Linked DNA regions of Homo sapiens: regions 1, 2 and 4 are each linked to region 3. The links are contacts of gene promoters, found by promoter capture Hi-C in human tissues and cell types (Jung and others, 2019). All regions are on one chromosome and are shown on one strand. The core of a region is centred on a gene start or on the middle of the fragment in contact, and the rest is flanking DNA. Distances in the headings are between cores, read along the strand shown. Region 1 overlaps FKBP5 (FKBP prolyl isomerase 5). Region 2 overlaps CCDC167 (coiled-coil domain containing 167). Region 3 holds the start of SRSF3 (serine and arginine rich splicing factor 3). Region 4 holds the start of CLPS (colipase).

Region 1 (4,091 bases), core at 65-2,564, 990 kb after region 3:
ATGGTGAGAGGTAGACGTCTGGTTTCCTATTTGGATGCCTTTTATTTCTTTCTCTTGCCTGATTGCTCAGGCTAGGACTTGCCGCATACTGATTGCTGTGGCTCAGTACCATGCTGAATAGGAGTTGTTAAGAGTGGACACCCTGTTTTTTTCCAGTTCTTAGGCGGAATGCTTCCAACTTTTGCCCGTTCAGTATGATATTGACGGCTGGGTGCAGTGGTTCACACCTGTAATCCCAAGACTTTGGAAGGCCGAGGCAGGAGGATTGCATGAGCCTAGGAGTTCAAGACCAGCCTGGGCAGCATAGTGAAACCTTGTCTCTACTAAAAATAAAAAAAATTAGCCACACATAGTGGCATGCACCTGTAGTCCCAGCTTACTTGGGAGGCTGATGCAGGAGGATCACTTGAGCCTGGGTGATACAGGCTTCGGTGAGTTATGGTTGCACCACTGCACTCCAGCCTGGGCAATGGAATAAGACCTTGTCTCAAAAAAAAAAAAAAAAAAAAAAAAAAAAAAGATATTGTCATAGGTGGCTCTTATTATTTTGAAGTATGTTCCTTTGATGCTTAGTTTATTGAGGGTTTTTTATAATGAAGGGATGTTGGATTTTATTGAATGCTTTATGCTGATTGATTCTGAACATTGATAAAGAGGTATATATATATATCTTTAAATGATTTGTTCAGACTTTAATGGAAAGTACTAGTAAGAATAGCATGTAGAATTTCCAAATCACCCCATGTGGAGTGGGGAAATAGAGGAACAAGGAAAACTTCATCAATTGAGCAAAAATTGTTTTAAAAAATAAGAAAACACGGGCCGGGCACGGTGGCTCACGCCTGTAATCCCAGCACTTTGGGAGGCCGAGGCACGTGGATCACGAGGTCAGGAATCGAGACCATCCTGGCTAACATGGTGAAACCCCATCTCTACTAAAAATACAAAAAATTAGCTGGGCATGGTGGCGGGCGCCTGTAGTCCCAGCTACTTGGGAGGCAGGAGAATGGCGTGAACCCGGGAGGTGGAGGTTGTAGTGAGCCGAGATCACACCACTGCACTCCAGCCTGGGCAACAGAGCGAGACTCCATCTCAAAAAAAAAAAGAAAACACTGTGTAGAAAACCAAAGACAAGAATAAAACCACTCATATCAGTGATTACAAAAAATATGAATGGGATAAAGTCACCTATTAAAGGCAAAAGGTCTCATAAAGTGAGAACAACAACAGTATCTAGCTATGTGTTCTTTATAAATGAAACACTAAAATCAAAAAGGTACCAAAAATTGAAAATAGAGGAAAGATTACGTCTGCCCATATTGAGATCTGATGGAGCTGTGAGACTTTACATTTTTGTTTTTCATATGCTTTTGAAGTATTTATGAATGTCCTGGGATATAAGTCTAGGAATAGGAGCAAATTCTTGAAACCATTTTATTATATGTTTTCACAAAATAATGTAATATGGTACTTGGTCTAAAGTGGCCAGTGTTTATTCTTTCAAATATTTTGGATTTATATAATTTCTTTCTTCCAAAAAGTTATCTTCAAGTCTTCAGGTAGAATAAAATCATAGTAGAAAATAAGTCTTTCTGGCCAGCCATGGTGGCTCACGCTTGTAATCCCAACACTTCGGGAAGCCAAGGTGGGAGGGTTGCTTGAGGCCAGGAGTACAAGACCAGCCTGGCAACATGGTGAGACCCCATTCTTAACAACAACAACAACAAAATAGCCAGGCGTGGTGGTGTGTGCCTGTAGTCCCAGCTACTAGGGAGGCTGAGGAAGGAGAGTAGCTTGAGTCCAGGAGTGTGAGGCTGCAGTGAGCCATGATCACACCACTGCACTCCAGGCTGGGCAACAAAGTGAGACCCCCAACTCAAAACAAAAACAATAAAGAGGCCGGGCACGGTGGCTCACACCTGTAATCCCAGCACTCTGGGAGGCCAAGGCTGGAGGATCACTTGAGGTCGGGAGTTCAAGACCAGCCTGGCCAACATGGCGAAACCCCATCTCTACTAAAAACACAAAAATTAGCTGGGCATGGTGGTGCGGGCCTGTAGTCCCAGCTACTTGGGAGTCTGAGGCACAAGAAGTCCTTGAACTCGGGAGGCAGATGGTTGCAGTAAGTGAAGGTTGTAGTGAGGCAAGATCACGCCACTACACTCCAGCCTGGGCAACAGAACGAGACTCTGTCTCAAAAAAAGAAAGAAAACAGTCTTTTGTTGCTGCTGCTGCTGTTGTTGTTGTTACAAAAAAAAAAAAAATTCCAGCCAATTGGCCATTTATTTTAGAATAGTATTAAAAAACAAAGTTTCCATATCAATATAAAATTTGTATAGCTTCCTAGAATTTATTAAAATAGGAATACTAATAGATTCAAAAAGGAAAATTTGTATAAATTAGTGAAAATTACCACCCTGTCCTTAATGCCCTATTTTAAGATTAGTCATTAAATAAATATTTACTTGCTGGCCCTGAACTCTGTGCTGGGTACTGTGAGGCACAAAAGAAGTACAAGATACTGCCTTTGCCTACTAAGAATTTTATTCATACTTTGACAGCTTTCTGTGTTGAACCAGTAAATGTTTTCTTACACAGAGCTCTAAAACATGTTTAATCTGGTATAATTTACCACTAGGCACAGGAAAATAATTATAGCTAACATTCCTTTAGTTTGTCTCTGTATATCCACACTTAACAACAGCATTTTCACATGATAGACACCCTGACATATGAATGAATGAATGAATGAATATCAGGTGCTAGATTAAAAGCTCTAATTCAGTATCTAATTTAATCCTCTCAACAATTATCATTTAGCTAGTGTATTATCCACATTCTATCAGTGAAGAAACTGAGCTTCAGATCACTTTAATTACCTTGCCCAAAGTCATAATTGAAGTGGCAGAATGGGACTGGAATCCAGGTCTAACTCAAGTGCTATAGTGGTGTGAAGGGAAGACTGGTAAGGGTTGGTGTTCATGGAGAATTTGTTGCTGGGTGTATACTTCTTGTTTAGATTTCCTGTTTTGAAAACATTCAAACTTGATCAACCAAAAGAAATCATTTGCATAAATGTTATTCAGTTCCAGGAGCCAGGTTCCACGCCTGTTAGCATCTGTCCGTCAGTTCTGTAAGCAATCTTACAGTGGTGTGTGTTCATCCTAAGTAGTACAAAACAGTGCAGAGGAGGAAGGCGGACAGCTTAGGGGAAATCTGACCACCATGCGTGTTGGAAGTATTTCTCTTGTTCTCCTGCTTTTAGAAAGCCATCTCTGCTTGCTTTTTCAGGGGGTTATTAAGATCCTACTCTCTTGGATACTGTGCTCTATTAGGCAGGAGACACAGGCAGAAAGAAGCTCACTTGGCATGAATTAGGCAACAGAGAAAACTCTTGCTCAGTGGGAGTAACCTGTCACAACCTGGTTTTCTCTGGCCAGATAACCAGTCTTGTCGAGTAGTAATGCCATTACAACATTCCCATTCAGATCCTCATGACCCAGTAATTGTTTTGAGAATGAGTGCAAAGCTATCAGACACCAACTACTATAATTAGAAAAGGGAAAAATAGACACTTACCAGAGCTAATGTCTTTAGGCTGGAGCATTTACAGCTTTTTGTTTTTTGTTTTTTAAGTTATGGAGCCTCTTTCTCAGTTTTGCTTCCTAAAATACAAATTGCATGGTTTAGGGGTTCTTGCATTTCATTTTTGTTACTGCTGTGCACTCTCTTTCCTTTTTTCCCCCCTATTTTAATCGGAGTACAAATTGCTGTCAGCACATCGAGTTCATGTGCCAGCCACATTCAGAACAGGGTGTTCTGTGCTCTTCAAAACAAAATTGCTCTAGGGCAGTAAGAGAACAATAAGTCAGAGCTCCAGTTTAAGTGATGTTTTGCAGCTCGCTTGATGTGGTTACACTCCGATTGCGCAGCTAAGCTTGGGTAATTTGGTTTGGTTTGACTTTGTGGGGATTTGGAGGACCTCCCTCCCCCTTTAAGTTACATAGTCTTTAAGTCAAGAAAAAAATGTTGTCTCTTTTTAACTTGTTTATTTCTTTCTCTACCAAAAAAGCCCTAAGTAGAAGCATCCT
Region 2 (4,153 bases), core at 1,641-4,140, 900 kb before region 3:
TGAAGAGGATGGTTTATGAGTGGTGACTGAGATGGTACTTTGTGGCGGGAAGAACATAGACTTTGTAACCTGCATTAGGGTACAATAAGCTGCAGTAACAGAGAAACTCCAAAACTCAGTGGCTTCAAGAACAAGAAAGTGAGTTTTTTTCTAACAGGCTAGAGCAAGGGGCAGGAGATGTCTGCAAATGGTCAGATAGTAACTATTTTAGAAGAGACATGGTCTCTTCTAGAGAGCCAAATGGTCTGGGTTGCAACTACAGTTGATCCTCATTATTCACAGATTCCACATTTGCGAATTTCCCTAATGGCTAAAATGTATTTGTAACCCCAAAATCAGTACTCACAGTGCTTTTGTGGCAAATGCAAAGCAGTGGGAAAAAAATTGAGTCGCTCGCAGTCCATGTTCTCAGCTAAAGTTGAACAGGTGATGATGCCCTGCCTTGTTTCAGCTGTCCTACTGTAAACAAGGGTCCTTATTGTGTTCTATTTAGTGCCCTGTTTTTGTTTTGTTTTGTTTTTTTCATTCTCATGTTTTTTATTGGTATTTCGCTGTGTTTTGCTTTTGAGACAGAATCTCACTCTCGCCCAGGCTGGAGTGTAGTGGTGCACTCTTGGCTCTGCAACCTCCACCTCCCATTCAAGTGTTCACCCCCACCTTCCCCCGACACAGCCTCTCTAGTAGCCAGGATTAGACCACCACCACATCCGGCTAATTTTTGTATTTTTGGTAAAGACGGGGGTCTTGCCATGTCGGCCAGGCTGGTCTCGAACTCCTGACCTTAGGTGATCTGCCCACCTCGGCCTCCCAAAGTGCTGGGATTAGAGGTGTGAGCCACTGCCTGATTTTGCTGTTTAAAGTGCCCCCGATCCCCGACCCCCGACCCCAAGCATAGGGCTGAAGTGCTGTCTGGCATTCCTAAATCCAAGAAGGCTGTGATGTGTTGTAGAAGAAAACAGGTTTTTTAGATAAACTGTTCAGGCATGATATAACTCATGATGTAACAGCACGTATAGTGCTGTTGGTTGTGAGTCCAGTGTTAATGAATCAACAATATATATTGAATAAGGTCACTTTAAACAGAATCACACATGAAACAAGGTTGCAAAAATGTTGTGTCCATAGGCTTGCAGGAACCTCACCTGGTTTGGTATTTGCTAATTCAATATTAGAGGCAACTTTATAGGACATAGCTACCAGGAACAACAAGAACCAACTGTATTCAGGCTAAGGTAGGAGTATGTAAATGAAGGAATATGTAAATAAGTGGGTGTGTCAGTGTTCCACTAAAGCTTTATCTGCAAGAACAGTCCTTAGACCATTTGGCCACAGGGCTTAGTTGCCAACTCCTGGTCTAGAGTACCAGGTCTATGGTGGTTCTGCCAGATTCCCTTCCTCTGTGGCTTCACCATCTCTTGAGATCTTGTCACCTTATCAGTGGAACCGGGGCATACCCCACTGATGTGTCCACCGGCAGAGAAAGAGGAGAATGGAGGAAGCACACCCACTGTCCTGGGCCCAAACTGTCCACTTTCCATTGGCAAGAACTAAAACCCCACCTGACTGCAAGGGATCAGGGAAATGCGTTCACCAGTCAGGAGGCCACATAGCCAGCTACTGTTTGCTTACTATGGAGGAAGAGACCAGTGTGTTTTCACAGACAGCCTGTAGTCTCACTACAGATGGCACCTCACCTCACAGTGTGGTTGTGAGGATTAAATGAGACATTGCGTTAAGTGCCCAGCACGTGCCTGGCACCGGATTGGTAATCAATACATGGTAGCTCCAGCCTTTGTATTTCTTTTGCATCCTTCCACCATGGCTAAGTCAAACTCGTTCTTGGGCATTCGTTCACTCATCTATAACATGAAGGACTTGAATTTCACCAGGGGTTACAAACTCCTTGACTATGGCCCAAATACAGATCACAGATGTCTTCTGTTTGGCTGACAGACTTTTAAGTTTTTATTTTATTTTATTTTATTTTTAGACAGGGTCTTGCTCTGTTGCCCAGGCTGTAGTGCAGCGGCATGATCTCAGCTCACTGCAGCCTCCAGCCTCCCGGGTTCAAGCAATTCTCGTGCCTTAGCCTCCCGAGAAGCTGAGACTACAGGCGTGCACCACCATGCCCAGCTAAGTTTTGTATTTTTAGTAGAGACGGGGTTTCACCATGTTGGCCAGCTGGTCTTGAACTCCTGACCTCAAGTGATCCGCCCGCCTCGGCCTCCCAAAGTGCTGGGATTACAGGCGTGAGCCACCACACTCGGCCGGATTTTTACGTTTTTAAACTTGGTGGGGCATGTATTCTCCAAGTGCCTTATACTGGGGCAGATTCCATTGTTTTACCCTCTCCATACCACGGTAGATGTTTATATTTGCTATCTTGGTCCCTAAGTTTACTTTTTGCTTGGATATTCGAAGATTTGACATCTGTAACCGTGTGCCTTGGAAAAAGCCTGACATCTGGCTGGCTGTCTCCCCACCTTGCTTCTCAGTTGCCCCCAGCGGGTCTGAGTATTGAATGTGCACTGATGCTCAGTAGCAGTAGATATTGTCCTCTTATTAAAAGTTGTGTGCTCAGAGCCAATGAAGTGGTGATTTAATCAAAAATGTTTGTTAATCTGACGAGTGCAATAAAACCCCCACAAGTGAGTGATCTCAGCACCTGCAAACAGTCTCCACTTGTAATGAAGCAATTACCAAGCAGGCAGCACTCACCCTTAGGGCTGGCTTGGGCCAGCTGTATAAGCAGCCACCTCTTAGGACAACCAGGGCACCCTCTAGCCTCCCCCTCAAAGTGGTTCCTTTTGAGGTCTTTTTATCCAATTCATTTGCCACCATATGAGATCTCAGAGTTGGAAAAAACTGTGAGTTTTAGCTTCTGAGATTTCATTCTTAATAAGAAAAGAAAATTATAGTTCAAATGAGAAATCACCCACCCAGTACTGATTTTAATGTTGTGTGGGAGGAAGGAAAGGTTGAATTTCAGTCTAAACTGATAGGAGAATTTTGACTGATGTAAAACCTGTTTGTGTTTTCGGATCTCTGATGGTAATGAGCTGTTCCTTTGTCATTGCACTTTTCTTTTGTAGCTGGACTGTTCAAACTGGTGTCTTTAGATGTTTCAGTGACCAGTTGGTCTTGAGTTAACAGATGTGTGGTGTCTTAGCCGGTATCCTAAAGTGGATAACTTGGTTGGATCTGACCCCTAGTACAGAAAGTTTATCAGTTTGGAAAGCTTTTGGCTACAAGTTATAGAAAACTGACCTCAATGATTTAAGCAAATGGGAGTAGACTTTTCCCCTTATAGAAATTTGTAGGGGCCAGGTGCAGTGGCTCACGCCTGTAATCCCAGTATTTTGGGAGGCTGAGGCAGGTGCATCATTTGAGGTCAGGAGTTCGAGACCAGCCTGACCAACATGGTGAAACACCATCTCTACTAAAAATACAAAAATTAGCCAGGAGTGGTGGTACACGCCTGTAATCCCAGCTACTCGGGAGGCTGAGGCAGGAGAATTGCTTGAACCCAGGAGGTGGAGGTTGCAGTGAGCCAAGATCGTGCCACTGCACTCCAGTCTGGGCAACAGAGACCCCGTCTCAAAAAAAAAAAAAAAATTTGTAGGTAGGTGGCTACTGGCATTGGTTCAAAAGCTTAGCTATGTCAGAGTTGGTATTTCTGCATTCTCTTCACTGTTTCCTCATGGTCACAATATAGCTGCCACAGCTCCAGTCTAATATTCAACTTTAACTCAGGAAGGAGGAGGAAGGAACAACACTGTCCCTTTTATCAACAAAGCATAAGCTTCCCCAGGAGTCTCCTAGCTGACTTCTGGAACGTCTCATTGGCCAGAACTGGGTCATGAGCAAGCCTAGCTGCAGTGAGGTTGGGAGAGCATCTGCTGAGCTTTTCCACCTTCTGGAGTAGAGGTGGGCAAAGGAGCAGGGGTGGGGAGTCGGTGTTGTGTTGGCCAGTTGACAGTATCTGCTGTAAGGAATAAATGCTAATGGGAGTCATTGAAAATTCACTGGAATCCTTACCAGAAAAAGAGGGCAGGATCGGCTGGGTGCGGTGGCTCACGCCTGTAATCCCAACACTTTGGGAGGCCCAGGCGGGCGGATCACCTGAGGTCACGAGTTCGAGACCAGCCTGACC
Region 3 (4,369 bases), core at 1,166-3,665:
GAATCACGATGCATTTCTGTAATGAAAAATACCAAAAATATTCATTCATCTAAACATCTACAGTTAAAACCACAGATCCTTAGAAAGAACTCCATTAGAGAGGACAAGAGAGTTTAAGGTAGCACGTAAAGAAAAAAAAATTACAAAAATGCTAGAAACCAAACAAGAAATGTTACTGCTAAGCACCCATTTCCCCCCCCCCGCCACCCCGCCCCATTATCTTTACTCCTAACCCTCAGGAAGCCAGCAATTAGTGAAGAAAAAAACAGCTTCCTTGGAACGTTGAGAACAACTGGAGGAGCATTTACCACCATCTGGGCCGTGAGTTAAGAGACTTAACCTGTTATTTCATTTAATCCCCAAAATAAAGCATTTCTAGAAAAACAGAAGAGAATTCTGTTGGGGACTCAAAACTAAATAAAACAATGATGAAGAAAGCTAGTCCTTAAGGTTATACTACCAGGCAAGCGATTCAAAGTACCTACATAAGCCAAAACTTACCAGCTTTAATAAAAATAAGGCCAACGATTTTCACTTTTAAAAAAATGCCCATGGACCGGGCGCGGCGGCTCACACCTGCAATCCCAGAACTTTTGGGAAGCCGAGGCGGGCGAATCACGAGGTCAGGAGTTCGACCCAGCCTGGCCAATATGGTGAAACCCCGTCACAACTAAAAATACAAAAATTAGCCGGGCATGGTGGCGCACACCTGTAGTCCCAGCTACTCGGGAGGCTGAGGCAGAACAATCGCTTGAACCCGCGAGGCGGAGGTGGCAGTGAGCCGAGATCGCGCCACTGCACTCCAGCCTCGGCGACAGAGCGAGATTCCATCGCCAAAAAAAAACCACAAATAAATAAATAAATAAATGCCTATTTTGGTCATTTGGAACTATAGGAACAAGGCTAGTATCAAATGTCATTAGATAGACCAGAGTCTTACGCGGTAAAAATTTATCAAGCAACGAGACCAACTTTACAGTTTTTTAAAAAATGTAAACTCATAGTAGCACTTATTCACAGTAGCCCAAAGATGTTAACCCAAATGTCCATCAACAGAAACGGATAAGCAAAATGTGGTATAGACATAAAATGAGTATTATTCAGAATGATGTACTGACAAATCCTCCAACGTTGGAAAATCTTGAAAACATTACGCTAAGTTAAAGAAGCCAGACATAAAAGTACACGATTCCATAAATACTAAATATCTAAAATAGCTAAGTTCAGAGAGACAGGAAGATTAGTGGTTGCTAGGGACTAGAGGAAGGGGGACAGGGAATCTGGGAGTAAGTGCTCAATGGGTAGTAGTCTCCTGCGGGGGGAGGTGACGGAAATGTTTTGGAACTACGTGTAAGTGATGATTACACAACACTGAATATACTAAATACCACTTAAAGATAATTTCACTTTAATAAAAAATTACAAAGAGATATTTGCTACTAAAAAATTTACTGCACTTTGGGGACTTATTTTTTTGTTCTTCCTTGGCGGACTTGTATTTGATAAAGCTTTATTACTGAGTCACTTCGACGATGAATCTGATAAACTTGTAGACCAGTTTCAATTACATAAAAACCATCTACTCAATAATTCAGCTGAAGTGCTTTCCATAAACACCACGTTCTTCTTACTCTGGGCTTGTCTAATTAAAATATCCAGTCCAGACACATCCTATTTGCCGTGACCACACCCTGTGCCCAGGAGTAAGTTCTAAGACCAAACCACTGGTGAAAATTTTTAAAAACACTGCTGGCACCTGTCTTAAGCCTCCATTTTAATGGGAAGCGATGAAAGAACGAATCTTAAGTTCAAGGAAGATCTTTCGGTCTTAGAAAAAGGTGATTAGATTCAGGCTGCAAAATCTGAAACTACATGAAAGTAAGGTGACTACGGGGGCCATTTAATATGAACTGAAAGGTCCGGTCTTGGTTAGTGACTTTACAAAAACATTCTGAGAAGCTTCCCAATTAAATGAGGGGCCAAAAAAAAAAAAGGCGCCATAAAAATAAAAAGGCCGTGACCTGGAATACAACTCGGCTATCGGCTCCCCTTTGTGGTTCCCAACTCCCAGGTAACCCCCATCCTGGCTCATGCCCCAATGAGGAATATAAAGACTTCCACTCCAAGACTAGGAAACCCTCCGATGGGCCGGGAGCCCCCGCCACCGCCCCGTGCTGAACGTCACAAAATGGCGGCGGCGCCTCTTTGTCTCAATCTGGCGCCGCCATTGGGCCTGGCTCCTTGGTACTGTTAAATTCCATTTCCACCTCATTCCCTCTTTCGCTGGTCTCTTACCGAGATCTAGGGTTAAAAAATGCGGCGGCTCAAATCCACACGCTCCGATGAGTCTTCCCGCTTTCCTCCGGCCCAACACCAACCAACTCTCTCACTCACCCGGCGTCCACGAAATGGCGGACCACCGCCTTCTCCTCGCCTTTATTTATACGCCATACTGGAATCACATGATTGGACGGGCTCCCCCAATGAGAAGCAGAAGAGGCCGTGACGTATGGCTACAAACGCAGCGAGAGCCGCGGTTGCTGGGAGCGCGCTCTGGCGGTTGCGCCGGGTGGGTGGAGACGTGCGTCGGCGCGCGCTCGTTGTAACAGGCCTGGTGCTCCCTCGAGCGTTCCTCCCGGTCTGTCGACCTCCAGGTTACCCACAGACTCCTCTTCCTCACCTCCAAATAGGCTAGGGCTTCATAAACAGCACCGTCGCCGTCACGCTCAAACACTAATAGGAGCCGTTGGCCCCTAACAAGATTAAGAGATGAATTAATTAAGTGCTTCACCCTTGTGAGCGGTTAGTCTGGAACTAAGAGCATCGCGTTTACAAACAGGTCACGGAGCTGTTTGTGACCCAGCTGGCACCAGACTGTGGCCGCCTAGATTCCACACTGAAGGAAAAGCCTGGTTTGGAAAGTTTGCCCAACTCTTGCTGGTTTCTCGTCTCTCAAGCAAACTTGCAGGACTTGGCGCCGACAGCAAAGGAGACCGGTCAGGTGACCTGGAAACTATCACCTTTAGCAAACACCCGGAAAGGGAAGTTTCTGAAGAAGATTGAATGTAAATTCTGGCCCCCAAGCAAATGCCAGGAGGGGTATCTCGAGCCTTTCTCCTAGCAGCCGTTGCACTGCCTGGCATGTATTTTGTCCGGGCCACTTCCCTTACGAAGACAGAGCCGCAAGAGTAATTAAGGGGAGAGAGACTGTGATTGGGTTAGAAAAATCACCAAGGGCCGGGCGCGGTGGCTCATGCCTGTAATCCCAGCACTTTGGGAGGCCGAGGCAGGCGGATCACTTGAGGTCAGGAGTTCAAGACCAGCCTGGCCAACATGGTGAAATCCCGTCTCTATTAAAAATACAAATGGCCGGGCATGGTGGCAGGCGCCTGTAATCCCAGCTACTTGGGAGGCTGAGAGCAGGAGAATCGCTTGAACCCAGGAGGCGGAGGTTGCCGTGAGCTGAGATCCTACCACTGCACAAAAAAAAAAAGAGAGAAAAAGAACCTGTCTTTTTATTTATTCCCTCTTAGCTGAAAGATATGCCAATTATTATGTTTTTTTTTTTCTTTTTTCTTTTTTTTTTTTTCTTGAGATGGAGTCTCGTTCTGTTGCCCAGGCTGGAGTGCAATGGCGCGACCTCGGCTCACTGCAAACTCCGCCTCCCGGGTTCAAGCGATTCGCCTACCTCAGCTTCCCGAGTAGCTGGGATTACAGGCACCTGCCACCACACCCGGCTAATTTTTGTATTTTTAATAGAGACGGGGTTTCACCATGCTGGTCAGGCTGGTCTCGAACTCGCCACCTCAGGCGATTCTCCCGCCTCGGCCTCCCAAAGTGCTGGTATTACAGGCGTGAGCCACAGCACCCGGCCAGCCAATTAATATGTTTTAACTTTCCCAGGTATTTTTCTTTTGAAGCCTTACCTCTTATTGTGGTTCTAAAAGGTTTATCTGTAGTGGAGGAAAAAAATACAGATTTATTACATCTCAGCCTAGTTTCCTCACCTGTAAAAGGGGAGAAGGGGATCCTAGCAAACCTTTTCTTATTTCTCTCTCGTCTAGATTTTTTTTTCTGGCTCACTTATATTTGCCTTGATTTGTTCCCCTCCTCTATGTAAGCTTTTCTCCTCTTTTTCATTTTCTTTCCTTCTATCAAATCAAAGGCTCTGGAGTCAGGCAGTCCTGGATTTGGCCCCAGCCCCCACTGCTAGTTACTGGCTGAAGCATCCTGAGAAGAACGTTTAACCTCTCTATTTCCTCTGTATAAAATAACCCCAGGCTTGCAGCGTTACAGATGTTAGGTTTTGTCACTTTGGCCAATTGTGGTCACACCTGCATCCCCAGGGCTTGGAAACGATACAGCAGTC
Region 4 (4,467 bases), core at 1,079-3,578, 800 kb after region 3:
CACCTGCACAGCCGGCTCTGCATGAAATACTCTTTCTCCACTGCAATTCCCCTGTCTTGATGAATCGGCTCTATCTAGGTAGTGGGCAAGGTGAACCCCTTCAGTGGTTACATCCTGAGGGCTGTGTCACAGGCCATGGTTGCTCATATTTGGCTCAGAATAAATCTATTCAAATATTGTACAGAGTTTGACTCTTTTCATTGACAGGTACTTAATTTTTGCTTTCCTTTTAGAAGCACATACAGTGTCAAAGTTCTCTTTGCTACACTTCATTTGTAATGGAAAAAACTCCAGCCTTTTTTCTTTGCAAGCTTGGCTGAGACCAACTAGGGACAGGGCTGATGGTTTTCACAGCTCCCTTCATGGAGAGAAATCACTCCTCTGATTCCTTTGCCAGTCTCCATCTTGACTTGTGAGAAGGGAATAGTGATTCCCTTCTCTGTGGCTCACCTCACAGAGGTCCTGGGGGTGGGGAGCAGGTAGAGAAAAGAGAAGGAAGGATCAGAGTGAACTCATAGGAAAAAGTGCTTTCAAACATTGAGTTCTATAAAAGAGAGGGGGGATAGTGTTCTTTCATCAATGGTATTTCTGCATCGCTGGAACCAAATTGGTTTTTCTCATTTTGAGAGTCTCCTGGTTGTTCCTCCAGCTATTTCTCTACATTCCACACCCCAGGGATGTAAAGGTGAGAGGAAGGGGGTCATATTACATGGCTGGGCACCCACCATGTGCCAGGCACTTCCGAAGGTGTTCCACGTGCATTGTCTTAATCATGACCTCAGGAAGTAGGAGGCGTTATCCCCCTAAGATAAATAAGGAAAGTGAGGTTCAGGGAGCTTCACTTTCAATAATGTGTCTGAGGCCACGTAGCTCCAGTAAATGCTGAATTTTGAAGCCAGCTTGGTCTGGATCAAAGCTGTGCTTGAGGCTGGGCACAGTGGCTCACACCTGTAATCCCAACACTTTAGGAGGCCGAGGTGGGAAGATTGCTTGAGCCCACGAGTTTTAGACCTGGGAGGCTTAGGGGGAAGATTGCTTGATCTCAGGAGGTGGAGGCTGCAGTGAGCCAAGATGGCACAACTGCACTTCGGCCTAGGTGACAGAGTGAGACCTTGTCTCAAAAAATTAAATTAAATTAAATTAAAAGCTGTGCTTGAGGCCTGGGCCTCTCAGTGGAGCTGTCTTCTACCTCCTGGGATGGAGAGGGGAAGGGCAGGGGCCTCTGGCTGCCATGACTAGTCCTTCAGGAAAAGCTGCTCTGTTCCCATGCCTGAGCAAACTCAGGCAGCTGTGCCCTTCCCAGCTTCCTGAGGCCCCTGCTCCATCTGAGGCTCATGAGACCTCTTCATTCTCAGCCAGGACTAGCGACTGCTCACGCGCGCACGTGGCCTTGGGTAGGGGGCAGCGTGAGTGGAAACCTTAACTAAAGGGGTGAGTATCTGATGCTGGAATTGCAGATAGTAAGTGAGGTAGAAAGGAAAGGGGAGAGAGGCATTTAGGAAGGGCCTCCTAAGGGCCCTTGAGTCAGGCCTGCAGGCAGCCCCTGGTGTGAGGGCAGGGGGAGGGTGCCAAAGTGAAAGCACACACACCCTGGCCTGCTGGGGGTTGCAGAACTGTCAGCCCCAGGGATCTGGGCATGGCCTGGAATCCCCCGAGGAGACTGAAGGAAGGTTGAGGGGTGGGAGGCTAGGATCCTCGTCCCTGGAGTCTGACACTGCTAGACACCTGGGCTTGGGTGGGCCAAAGGCAAGGCCTGACTATAGTGAGGCAGAGAGGCCCCAAGTACACAGAATGTAAGCAGGCACTCACACCATAGGTGCCTCTCTTGCCTTGGATTCGTCCAGGCACTGCCCAGGAGCTCAAGACACAAGGGCAGCCACCCTTACCCACTGCTTATGTGGCATATGGGAATATACAATATAAATATATTCTTATAATTGTATATAATAATGTTTATATATATGTAACACATAAATGTGTATTAATTCAACCCTCACAACTCTTTAAATTATCCTTAGTTGACAGATAAGATGAAAGGCAGAATAGTTGGAACAGATAGTAAGTTTGCCTCACTAATAACTTGTACACAGTCCATACTCTTAACCACGATGCAACACAATTATCACCAACACACACACACACACACACACACACACACACACACACACGAAAAAGGCCACCAGGTACTCACCCAGTTTCCTTATCAGGAACCGCCCCACAGCAGATTGGCCACAGCTGTGCCTCTGCCCACGGCCAGCCCTGTGGGATGCAGGTGGATCTCGTGAGGTCAGGGCCCCTTTTATAGCCCCATCACCACAGCTGGCTCTGTCTCCCGCCACCCACACCAGCTGTCCCACTCACCATGGAGAAGATCCTGATCCTCCTGCTTGTCGCCCTCTCTGTGGCCTATGCAGCTCCTGGCCCCCGGGGGATCATTATCAACCTGGTAAGAGGGTCTTCAGGGGAGGCGCCTCCTGAGTCCCCAGATGAAGACTTCCTAAGCTTGGACCTTGACCTCTGATGTCTCCACCTGGACTGGCAGGGGCTGGGAGGAGTGGCATCTTGCATCCCTCTGTTTACTTCCATGTCCTGTCCTATGCCTCTTCCCAGAGGCCACAGGAAAGGCTGATCAGCCCCTCTCCAGCTCCAACTGGAGCATGCTCAGAGCAGCAGCTCAACCTGGCTATGAGGGACCTTTTTTTTCTTTTTTTTCTTTTTGAAACGGAGTCTTGCTCTGTCACCAGGCTGGAGTGTAGTGGCACAATCTCGGCTCACTGCAATCTCTGCTTCCCGGGTTCAAATGATTCTCCTGCCTCAGCCTCCCAAGAAGCTGGGATTACAGGTGCCTGCCATAACGCTCAGCTATTTTTTGTATTTTTAGTAGAAATAGGGTTTCACCATGTTGCCCAGGCTAGTCTCAAACTCCTGACCTCGTGATCCGCCCACCTCGGCCTCCCAAAGTGCTGGGATTACAGGCATGAGCCACCTCACCTGGCCCTACGAGGGAGCTTTGTAAAAATCCAGAGCCCTGGGCTTCCATCCTGAGAAAATGCTTTGCGCCAATCATTCCAGCTTCTGACTTATGGAGATGCCTCGGAGATGTTTACTCATTCTGTTCTCATAATAACCACTGAGGGAGGTGTTTTCAGAGTCAGCCCTGTCTTCAGACAGAGAGAGGGTGAGCAACCTGCCTGAGGTCACATAGCTGGAAAGTGGTTCAGCTGGGGCCCCACCACTGCCCCACACCACCTCTCCACCATGGGTCTTGGCTGGGAAAGCCCTTCCAGAACGTCCATGCGGTTGAAAGGTTCTGAACTCTCTTAACTTGGGGCCATGGCTGGACTTGGAGGTCCAGGACCCTTGGAGATTATAGATCAGATCTGTTGGGGGAGGAAGGAGTCTTGCAGGGAGATGCAATCTTCACCGCCTCCTTAAAGAGGTGTGGGACCCAGAGTGGTTTGGAGAACTTGTCTAGGGGCCTTGTGTGCACATTCCAAATGGGAACACTGAGGCTTGGGAGGCAGTGACTTGCCCAGAGTCACACAGGAGGTTGGTAGCACAGCCGGTACTAGAACCCAGGGGTCCTGACCCTCTGTGCAAGTCTGCTTCTCTGTCACCGCATGCCCACTTCTCACGTGGGTGGGGGGCACAGAGGCCACCAGACCCAGGGGATGGACTCCTTCACACACATCCCTACCAGGGGAGACACTGTTAGTGGTAGTGTGTGGTGGGTACAGGTCTGAATGGAGAAGGGACCTGAGGGAGTGGGGCCTGGGCTGACTGGCTGCTCCTGGCAGGAGAACGGTGAGCTCTGCATGAATAGTGCCCAGTGTAAGAGCAATTGCTGCCAGCATTCAAGTGCGCTGGGCCTGGCCCGCTGCACATCCATGGCCAGCGAGAACAGCGAGTGCTCTGTCAAGGTGGGTGCCTGAGGACTTGGCGTGGGTGGGGGAGAATGGGGAGTAGGGCCCTGAACACTTGTGAGTGGGATCAGGGAGGGGGGTCAGCCTGGACACTGAATGTTGAGGAGACGAGAGGGAGGTCGACAGGTGTCAAAGCACTTTCCCATCCCATCATCTCTCTTGACCCTCCCGAGTGACCAGTGAGATGGGTGGGGGTGGGGATTTGTTATCCCCATTTCATGGCTGGGTAAATAGAGGCTCCCCAGAGAGATCAAGCTAGTAAGAGCAAATGAGCCAGAGCAGAGGTCAGAGCTGGGGTCTCCAGGGCCCACGGCACCCCTGGGGAGGCAGGTGGGAGAGGCACTCCCCGAAAACACAGGCTGGCCTACTGGTTCTCTAGGTCAGGCAGGGGACAAGTGATGTCCAAAGTATCTCCCCATAGCCTTGACTCCATTGGCTGTGTCTCTGCAGACGCTCTATGGGATTTACTACAAGTGTCCCTGTGAGCGTGGCCTGACCTGTGAGGGAGACAAGACCATCGTGGGCTCCATCACCAACACCAACT

What was found. The method cuts DNA at HindIII sites, captures the fragments that hold promoters and counts their contacts. A contact is called where the count stands out against the background at its distance.
Region 1: a contact is called between a fragment that was not itself captured here and the fragment with the promoter of SRSF3 in region 3, in 1 of the 25 tissues and cell types used here (hippocampus).
Region 2: a contact is called between a fragment that was not itself captured here and the fragment with the promoter of SRSF3 in region 3, in 1 of the 25 tissues and cell types used here (psoas muscle).
Region 4: a contact is called between the fragment with the promoter of CLPS here and the fragment with the promoter of SRSF3 in region 3, in 1 of the 25 tissues and cell types used here (pancreas).

What each region holds. Positions count from the first base shown.
Region 1 is chr6:35,601,812-35,605,902 of GRCh38, reverse strand. All of the region lies in intron 5 of FKBP5 (FKBP prolyl isomerase 5), which reads left to right. Among named protein-coding and RNA genes, the nearest start is that of LINC03135, 60 kb to the right of the region's middle. RefSeq lists a silencer at 3,237-3,531. The HindIII fragment of the contact is 9,658 bases long and covers 1-4,091 here.
Region 2 is chr6:37,494,268-37,498,420 of GRCh38, reverse strand. The region is part of intron 1 of CCDC167 (coiled-coil domain containing 167); the gene reads left to right. Among named protein-coding and RNA genes, the nearest start is that of CCDC167, 3.5 kb to the left of the region's middle. The HindIII fragment of the contact is 5,400 bases long and covers 191-4,153 here.
Region 3 is chr6:36,592,408-36,596,776 of GRCh38, reverse strand. SRSF3 (serine and arginine rich splicing factor 3) reads right to left here and starts at 2,415. Exons shown (of 6, transcript NM_003017.5): 1 at 2,296-2,415; 2 at 1-16. The coding sequence starts at 14. RefSeq lists enhancers at 1-112, 2,128-2,357, 1,958-2,639, 2,748-2,907. The HindIII fragment of the contact is 3,355 bases long and covers 1,735-4,369 here.
Region 4 is chr6:35,795,184-35,799,650 of GRCh38, reverse strand. It overlaps CLPS (colipase), which reads left to right and starts at 2,328. Exons shown (of 3, transcript NM_001832.4): 1 at 2,328-2,446; 2 at 3,798-3,920; 3 at 4,374-4,467. The coding sequence starts at 2,363. The HindIII fragment of the contact is 7,222 bases long and covers 1,408-4,467 here.